3 separate regions of the Homo sapiens genome follow, and all the other regions are linked to region 2. The links are contacts of gene promoters, found by promoter capture Hi-C in human tissues and cell types (Jung and others, 2019). All regions are on one chromosome and are shown on one strand. The core of a region is centred on a gene start or on the middle of the fragment in contact, and the rest is flanking DNA. Distances in the headings are between cores, read along the strand shown. Region 1 overlaps FCHO2 (FCH and mu domain containing endocytic adaptor 2). Region 2 holds the start of TMEM171 (transmembrane protein 171). Region 3 overlaps FCHO2 (FCH and mu domain containing endocytic adaptor 2).

Region 1 (2,744 bases), core at 18-2,517, 56 kb before region 2:
CTAAAAAAAGAGCCTCCTGAAAAATGAGCTTTGATTACCAAAAGTTTCTTTATAATAGAATGTCTTTATGTAAGGATTGCTACATACTAATGATTTTCTTCAAATTCTCTTTTCCCCCTCAACCAGCCAGGCCCACAACTCCTCTTTCTGTAGGCACCATTGTCCCACCTCCGAGGCCTGCTTCCAGACCAAAGCTTACTTCAGGCAAACTCAGTGGGATTAATGAAATAGTATGTACTCAGGTTTTTTAAAAATTATTTAACTGTTTTGATTTAAGATGCAAATGCTATTTTTCTATATGCCCTTTTACAGTTAATTGCTTGAAGTTTTCTACCCATGTCCTCACAGTATAGAAAAATTTTCCCAGCTAGTGCTTCCTTTACTCTTCCTTGTTACCACAGTGATCATACCTGTGAGACACGACATTGTCCAGGAGGAAAGAGATTTCCTGAGAAAGTTGGCACATTATAAAAATACCATTCAGTATCCATTGTCTCACAATAAAGAAGCGGTTTTCATATAATTCTACTTAAAGTCAAATGTTAAGGAAATAAATGGTGGCTTGTTCTTAGACCTTAAAAGTATACTGCAAGGAGGATTATGGAAGGCATCTAGCTCAGCATTTAAAATTTTACACATAAGGAAACTGGAGTCCACATCATCCAGTTGACTTATAAAAGTACATGCATGGGTGGGAAAAGCATTGGTTTTTAAAAGTCATCAGATAGAGAAAATCTATAGACTCTATGCAGTGAGGCTCTCCCAGTCTATTTGCCTTTGATCTGGTTTGTTTTGCTTCATCTTCTACACTAATTGCCAGTTTAATTACCAGAATTAAATTTCTAAGTCCAGTTTAATCTTTTTTCCCTTGATACACATTTCCAGTGGTTTCTCAGTCTGTGTGGTTGACTGTTTTAGCTGAATGTACAAGAGTCTTTATAAAGCTGCCTCAACAACCTACATTACCAGACTAACTGTCCATCTTTCTCCCCTTTTCAACCTAGGTTCCAGCCACTTGAAACTTTTCAGGGTTCCTTAAACACATCATGGTCTTTTACATGTCCATGTCTTCTTCCTGTGCTGTATCTCAAATGCCCCTCAGTTTTCTATGTCACAAATTGACTTCTTTCTTTAAGACCTAGCTAAACATCACCACCTAGGCAAAACCCTCTTTGATCATTCCTTCACTTATCTTCCTTATACCCAGATACTTTGCTTATATTTTTGTTAGTTCATATATCACCTTGTATGTACTTTTTTTGTGTGTGTTACCTTTACTGGGCTATTCCTTCGTCAGTCTCATATCCTCAGTACTTTGCATGATGCCTGTTGGGTGGTACACAGTTATGAAATCTTCAGTGAATATATTGAAAAGCTTCGGCACCAAGTATTGAAATGGTGATATCTTTCTTTTCCGAATGAACAGACTTAGTGGAAGTAAAATAAAAGACTAGGTACAAGCTGCCAAGGAGAAGGTTATTATTTAAGTAATATAGAAATTACTACATTTTAAAATACTTCATTCTCTTTTTTAAATCGTTATGACTAGAACTTTGAGTACATTCTAATAAATTGATTTTTTTTTCCTGATTGTAAAAACAGTAAATGATCGTGTTATAAAATTTGGAAAACAGAGAAAGCAGAGAAGGAAAATTATAAATTTCCTCTGTATTTCACCACCCAAAGATAACCACTGTTAACATTTTTTGGAATGCATAAGTGTTTATCCAGAGGCAGTAAAATATAGTTAAAAGTACAAGCTTATTAGCCACGTATTAGCTGAGCAACATTAAACAGTTATTTAATCAGAGTTTAGTTGCCTCATGGATAAAATATGTGTAATGATATTAGGTTGTGAGACTTAAATGAGTTAATACATGTAAAACAGAATATTGTTGAATGCAAATAGTTGCTCAAAAATTATTAATTGTATAGGCATATTTTTAAATAAAAAGTCATACTTTACATATTTCTAATTTGTTTTCTACTTGCAAATATCTTTCTATATCATGAATTATTCTTTGATTATAATTTTATTTATAGAATTAGGGGATACAAGTGCAGATTTCTTACATGTATATATTGCATACCGGCAGAATCTGGGCTTTTGGTGTACCCATTAACTGAGTAGTGAATATTGTACCCAACAGGTAATTTTTCTACCCTTACCCTTTTCCCATCCTCCCACCTTTTGTAGTCTTCACTCTCTGTTATTCCACTGTATATGTCCATGTGTAACCTTTGTTTAGCTCCCACTTATAAGTGAGAACATGAGGTATTTGACTTTCTGTTTCTGAGTTATTTCACTCAGGATAATGGCCTCCAGTTCTATCCATGTTGCTGAATGAATTATTCTTATTTCATAGTCTTCAAGCTTCTTTAAAGTGATAGAATCTTTTGCCAAATAACTTTAAATTGTAAGTATTAATATATTAAAATAAAGTGGGACTCATAGTTGAATCCTTCACATCATCCCCATATCACCATACACTACCCTCTCCCCATCCTTGAGAGCCTTCTAGAAACCACCCTCTGAGCTTCAGGGAGCACTATTTTAAGTGGCTACAGAGTATTTCAATATGAGTGCTCTGTCTTCTACACCGTTGTCAGAATTAAATTTCTAAATGTTTTCAGAAATTTATTTGACATTTAGTTCCATGTTTTTGTTATTATAAACAATGTCTTAATGACTGTCCTTATGGTTTCTTAGCATTCTTTTTTAATAAAAAATTTTAAAAGTGCAA
Region 2 (2,974 bases), core at 327-2,826:
TCAGCCTGGACCTCAGTTTCCTCAACTGACAAATGACTGTTTTTCTCAGTCTCCTGTCCCCTGCTGCCTCCAACCTTTTCTGAACTGCTGGAGAGATGTAGCAAAGAACCACAAAGCAAGGGGTCGTGAGTGTTGGCATTGTTCATTTCGACAGTAATCAGGGCTGTTAGTTATGGCGGGGATTTACAGAGGTCGGGCACCCTGGCTATGAAAAAGTCCACCTTTGGCCACCCAGGCAAGTGCCCCACCAAATTCCAATGGCAAGAACTTGTCCGTTCTGCCTCCCTGGTGAACCCTAAAGCCCAGGTAACCCCCTCCCCTCTTTACCTCTCTGACTGGTTCTTTAAGTCTCTTCTCACCTCTGATGATTAGCTAAGCCTGCTTCATACTTTACCTTCAGTGAGCATGACCAGGAATCTCTTGTTGTATCAGGTAGGTAAAGTGCTTGCTTGCACATTGAAAAGTTTCATCCATTGGCCTTAACTCTAGATAGGGTTTCAGGCAAGGCAGACAGGAAGCTGAGAAGAGAAGGCAGGGCTGGGAAGTCCCCGTGGCTCAGGGCACCTCTGCGCTTGGGCAGAGAACCCTTGACTCACCTTCCACCGTGCCCTGACCCCTGGTGTGGAAACTAGCACAGTTGGATCCGTATCACGTGTCACGGGGCTGGTTACAAATAGCACAGGGATTGGCAAACTCATCCCGAAACTCCCGGTTCAAGGGCAGGGAAAGTTACCAGTTTAATTCCGGCAGATCATTAGTGGTGGAGAACCAGGAAGGGGGTTCTATCGCAAAGGAGGGCTGTGCGCAGACACGTGGGTGCGGGAGGGGCAGAGCTGGTCCGGCGCGGGGCTTGCCGCGTCTCGGCCTCAGTCTCGGAGCCAGGACCTCAGGCCTGAATGGCTGGGTGTGGAGGGCCCTTGTCTCACATTCTGTAGAGCGCACGTCGTCCCGTGACCTGGTGGCTCCATATTCGATGGGGAGCTCGCAGCGAGTCGCTTCCCTCTGTAACCCCACTCCAGGTCTCCAGAGCAGTAGGAGGGCCACAGGGCTGCTGGGTGTAGTCGCCCCGGACCTCGCGGTGGCCAAGGCCAAGGCGGCCGGGGCACGGTACCCTGTTCGGCCTGGGCCGCAACCACGAAGGAGGCGGTGGAGGCGGGGGCCGGCGCTTCCTCCGCGCCCCCCACGCCGCCGCTCTCTCGCGCCCCTATAGAACTGGGCCTCAGGCCTCGAGGGGGAGCGGGCCTCGGCGGGCGGGGCGCACAGTTCCGCCAGCCGGCGGGGGCATCTCAACTCGCCGGCCCCGCCAGGTGTGCGGGCCAGGCAGCCGTGGAAGGTGCCCATTTCTCCCAGATTCCTCGCGCGCACGGCCACGAGCGCGGAGGCTGCCAAACCCGCCAGCCCTGGGTTCCGAAGCCGCCCCTGGCTCTCCATTCCCTCGCGGGCGCGCCCCGGGCCCCCAGTGGCGGCCAGCTCCCACCGGTCGCTCCTGCACTGCCCTGCCCTGCCCTCCCCGGGCCGCCGCGCCCGCGCAGCACCGCCTCCTTCTCTAAATACTGCCGGGTCCGCCCTCCGCACCAGGACGCGCGGTGGGTAGGGTGCAGGGCGGCCGGCGCAGCCGAGGCCGCGTGCGGAGGCGGACGCCGCGCCCAGCCAGTGCCCACAGCAGCGCGGTCAGCCAGGCGCCGGACCCAGCTTCAGGTAAGCTGCCCCGGCCCGCGCGCCTGCGCCGGCGGCGGCGGGTCGGGCGCTGAGCTGTGCGGCCAGGCTGGGCGCGGGGAGCCGCGGCAGCGCGGAGGCGCTGGGTATCCGAGCCCAACCTGCGTCCCTGCGAGCCCCTCCGGCTGTTGCTTGCGCTCGGGCTCCCTAAAAGCCGCAAACCGATTTCGCACAGAAGGCATTTGCCTCTCGTTTCGTTCCCCAAACGCACCATAGCTTTGGACGTGGAGAGGTGCTGTGAATTTTGGAAATGTCTTTTGGAAAACCAATAGGAGTGTTGGAGAGGGGAGTTTGGCTTTGGGGAGTTTAAGTGTAGGGTGGTGTTTGGAAAAGGTTTCATTGCGAGTGAATGTGGGTGTCTTTGTATCCGTTTGTGAGTGCATCTGTGGGAGAAGGAGAGAGAGAGAGTATTTCCACACTATTATGGATCAGAGGTGAACACTCAGCCAGGTGCTCCGTCCACTAGTCCACGGACAAGAAACTACAGATTCAGTTTTGGGCTTCTATTTACTGGTGTTTGGGAATTTGCCTTAAGACAGTTGAAGCCTTGTGACTCACTGCAAAGTTGACTATACTGGGAATAAATGAATTCCTGATAGGACTTTGCAGCCGAGAATCACCCTTCTCTTTCTTGTCTCCGAAACCGCAAAAGAGATTGCATGATTCAGGAAAAAAATTAAAACAACAACAATAACAAAAAACCAATATATATAGGTTTCAGGACTCTCCATCGTTTCATTCCACTGAGAGTTTTGGAATGTACTCCCTGTAGGATAAATGAGGACTACTGTATACTCAATATGAAATTCTTATTCACTGCAGGATGTTACTGACTTAATAAAAAATGGGAAGATTAAAAAATTAGTGCAATGCTTTGTCTCAGCTTAACTGCATCTGTATATCAAGTTTTTCCAAGTTTGAAATGAAAGCTTTTTTCCCTCCTATATTTCCTTTTTTTCTCCAACTTCCTTCTGATTCTATCATACTTTTTCCTGGAAAAGTTTTTCCCAGTGTAAGATTGCCTGTTTGCTTTCTTTACCTAAACTGACCTTCCCTCAGTGTGATTTTGGTTTGTCAAGATCATCTTGGGCTTAGGGCCTCAGTCTTGAGTTCCTTCATGGGACCATGGATGTGAGCGGCACAAAATATTTTAAAAGTTTTCTTTCCTTGGGCAGGTGAAAATAGTCTTCACGATTTTGGATTGTCTTTGCAATTGCAGGACCTGACTTACGGGGTCCTGGTAAAATATCCCATTCAT
Region 3 (3,003 bases), core at 502-3,001, 35 kb before region 2:
GAACTCTATGTTCCATGTAGGTAACCTGATAACTAATTGAAACTGATTTAACACAGTTTAGTTCATTCTGTTAACGGGATTCTCCTGACCTCCCAGAAATCATGTAGACGCTTCCAGGCTTTAAAAAGCCCCTTGCCGTCCCGGCACAGTGGCTCACGCTTGTAATCCCAGCACTTTGGTAGGCCGAGGTGGGTGGATCACTTGAAGTCAGGAGTTCAAGACCAGCCTGGCCAACATGGTGAAACCCCATCTGTTTTAAAAATACAAAAATTAGCTGGGCGTCATGGTGCACGCCTGTAATTCCAGCTATTCAGGGGACTTAAGCATGAGAATCACTTGAACCCAAGGAGGCGGAGGTTGCAGTGAGCTGAGATGGTGCCCCTGCTCTCCAGCCTGGGTGACAGAGTGAGACTCTGTCTCAAAAAAAAAAAAAAAAAAAAGCCCCCTTGCCTTCTGCAGTTCTCTAAAAGAACCTTTTTCCTGTCCATTTCCCCCTATTAAAGCTAACTATCAGCAGCATTCAATTTTCTGATGATTATTTTAAGGAGAAGCAAGTTATGCTTCTCTCACTAAGTACATCTGTTTGTGTTCATAATGCCAAGGAAAAGGCTGTCCTAGCTGATCACTTCTATAACTCAACTTACAATAAGGATGTAATTCTTGGGACAGCCAAGTCTTTAACATAGTCTTATTTTCTCTTAATCAAAAGAGAATTCTTCTGCCTTCTTTTGAATGCATAATTTTAGTCTACAATAACTTTTCTGCTTGTTTTTTTAGGGTTTGGTTTTGTTTTGTTTTGTTTTGTTTTTTTGAGACAGAGCCTTGCTCTGTTGCCCACTCTGGAGTGCAGCGGCATGATCTTGGCTCACTGCAACCTCTGCCTCCCAGGTTCAAGCAATTCTCCTGCCTCAGCCTCCCGAGTAGCTGGGATTACAGGCACCTACCACCACATCCAGCTAATTTTTGTATTTTTAGTAGAGACAGGGTTTCGCCATGTTGGCCAGGCTGGTCTTGAACTCCTGACCTCAGTTGATCTGCCAGCCTCAGCCTCCCAAAGTGCTGGGATTACAGGCATGAGCCACCATGCTCAGCCTAGTCTCCAATAACTCCTCTATTTGATAGGTTTTTTGGCTTTTCAAATGTTGCTGAGCTTTTTCTTTTTGAATATTTTGAGCATAATATAAAACATATCAGTAGCTTTTCTCATAGATATTTCTGTAGAAAGGACCGTAAATATGTCTGTGTTGTTTATTCATTTACACCTGCCATGCAGAATAAGACTTTTACTGGAGAGCCATACATTGGGTGAAATAACCAAGCAAATCTTCAGTTTCTTTTTTGCTGTTTGGTACTTATAGGTTGCCCACTTTCAGCTGGCCAACTGCATTGACTTTAACCCTAGCTATTAATATATAGCTTTTTGTGAGCCAAGCTGAAATTCCTAGTTTAAATTGAAGTAAACCAGCAATCCTGTTTGCATTAAGGGCTTATAACCAGTTTAGAAGGACAAAAGGATCTTTTTCCCCAATATAATGAAACTATACTATTGTAAATAATTAACAAGAAAGAAATTTGTTCTCTCAAAAATAAGACACAGGCTGGGTGCAGTGGCTCATGCCTGTAATCCCAGCACTTTGGGAGGCCAAGGCAGGTAGATCGTGAGGTCAAGAGATCGAGACCATCCTGGCCAACATGGTGAAACCCTGTCTCTACTAAAAATACAAAAATTAGCTGGATGTAGTGGCACGTGCCTGTAGTGTCAGCTACTCGGGAGGCTGAGGCAGGAGAATTGTTTGAACACGGGAGGTGGAGGTTGCAGTGAGCCAACATCGCACCACTGCCCTCCAGCCTGGCGCAGAGACTCCGTCTCAAAAAATAAAAAAATGAGATACAAATTTTCTAACCAGATTTTAAGTTTCCCTCTGCTATTCAGGTATCAGGTGTTTCTGTGAGGAAATGGAAAAATCTTATAAATGTGGTTTTTGATGTGGTTAGTCAAGCCTTTGAAAAGAATATCCAAGGCCAGGCATGGTGGCTCATTCCTGCAATCCCAGCACTTTGGGAGGCTGAGGCAGGTGGATCACTTGAGGCCAGGAGTTGGAGACCAGCCTAGACAATGTGGCAAAACCCTGCCTCTACTAAAAATACAAAAATTAACCAAGTGTGGTGGCACGTGCCTGTAGTCCCAGTTACTCAGGAGGCTGAGGCACGAGTCTAGCTTGAACCTGGGAGGCAGAGGTTTCAGTGAGCCAAGATTGCACCACTGTATTCCAGCTTGGGCCTTAGAGGGAGACTCTGTCTCAAAAAATAAATAAATAAATAAATAAATAAATAAATAAATAAATAAATAAATAAGAATGCTGTAAAATAGGCTGGGCACGGTGGCTCACACCTGAAATCCCAGCACTTTGGGAGGCTGAGGCGGGTGGATCATGAGGTCAGGAATTCAAGACCAGCCTGGCCAATATGGTGAAACCCTGTCTCTACTAAAAATACAGAATTAGCCAGGCATGGTGGTGTGCGCCTGTAATCCCAGATACTCAGGAGGCTGAGGCAGGAGAATCGCTTGAACCCAGGAGGCGGAGGTTGCAGTGAGCCAAGATCGTGCCACTGCACTCCAGCCTAGGCAACAGAGTGAGAGACTCTGTCTCAAAAAAAAAAAACACAAAAAATTCTGTAAAATAGAAATCTGTTTTCTGTTGCTGACTGTGTACTCAGAAGAGGGACAGGAAATATTTCTAAGGTGATTGTCAAGGTTGTTGCTCTTGGTCTATGGTAGAACTTTTGCACAACCAAATTGGTTATCAAGAATTGTAAAAGTTTGAGGGCCTGGATAGTAATTAAGAATAAGGCAGCAGTTCATCTCCACTACTGATCTATGCCTCCAGGCATAATAATACAAGTTGGATCAATGTTGTGACATCCTATTCTCCATTTCTCTGTGTAGTGTTAAGCTTCTGTGCAGGGGATCACAGGATCTTACTGCTAGTACCTAGCATTTCT

Evidence for each region. The method cuts DNA at HindIII sites, captures the fragments that hold promoters and counts their contacts. A contact is called where the count stands out against the background at its distance.
Region 1: a contact is called between a fragment that was not itself captured here and the fragment with the promoter of TMEM171 in region 2, in 1 of the 25 tissues and cell types used here (dorsolateral prefrontal cortex).
Region 3: a fragment that was not itself captured here is called in contact with the fragment with the promoter of TMEM171 in region 2 in 1 of the 25 tissues and cell types used here (mesenchymal stem cells).

Annotation. Positions count from the first base shown.
Region 1 is chr5:73,063,715-73,066,458 of GRCh38, forward strand. FCHO2 (FCH and mu domain containing endocytic adaptor 2) reads left to right here. Exons shown (of 26, transcript NM_138782.3): 18 at 127-230. Among named protein-coding and RNA genes, the nearest start is that of TMEM171, 55 kb to the right of the region's middle. The HindIII fragment of the contact is 3,441 bases long and covers 1-2,744 here.
Region 2 is chr5:73,118,999-73,121,972 of GRCh38, forward strand. It overlaps TMEM171 (transmembrane protein 171), which reads left to right and starts at 1,577. Exons shown (of 4, transcript NM_173490.8): 1 at 1,577-1,698. LOC124901001 reads right to left here and starts at 1,493. Exons shown (of 2, transcript XM_047417978.1): 1 at 1-1,493. The coding sequence starts at 1,431. The coding sequence ends at 730. RefSeq lists an enhancer at 416-967. The HindIII fragment of the contact is 7,583 bases long and covers 1-2,974 here.
Region 3 is chr5:73,083,473-73,086,475 of GRCh38, forward strand. The region is part of intron 24 of FCHO2 (FCH and mu domain containing endocytic adaptor 2); the gene reads left to right. Among named protein-coding and RNA genes, the nearest start is that of TMEM171, 36 kb to the right of the region's middle. The HindIII fragment of the contact is 4,705 bases long and covers 1-3,003 here.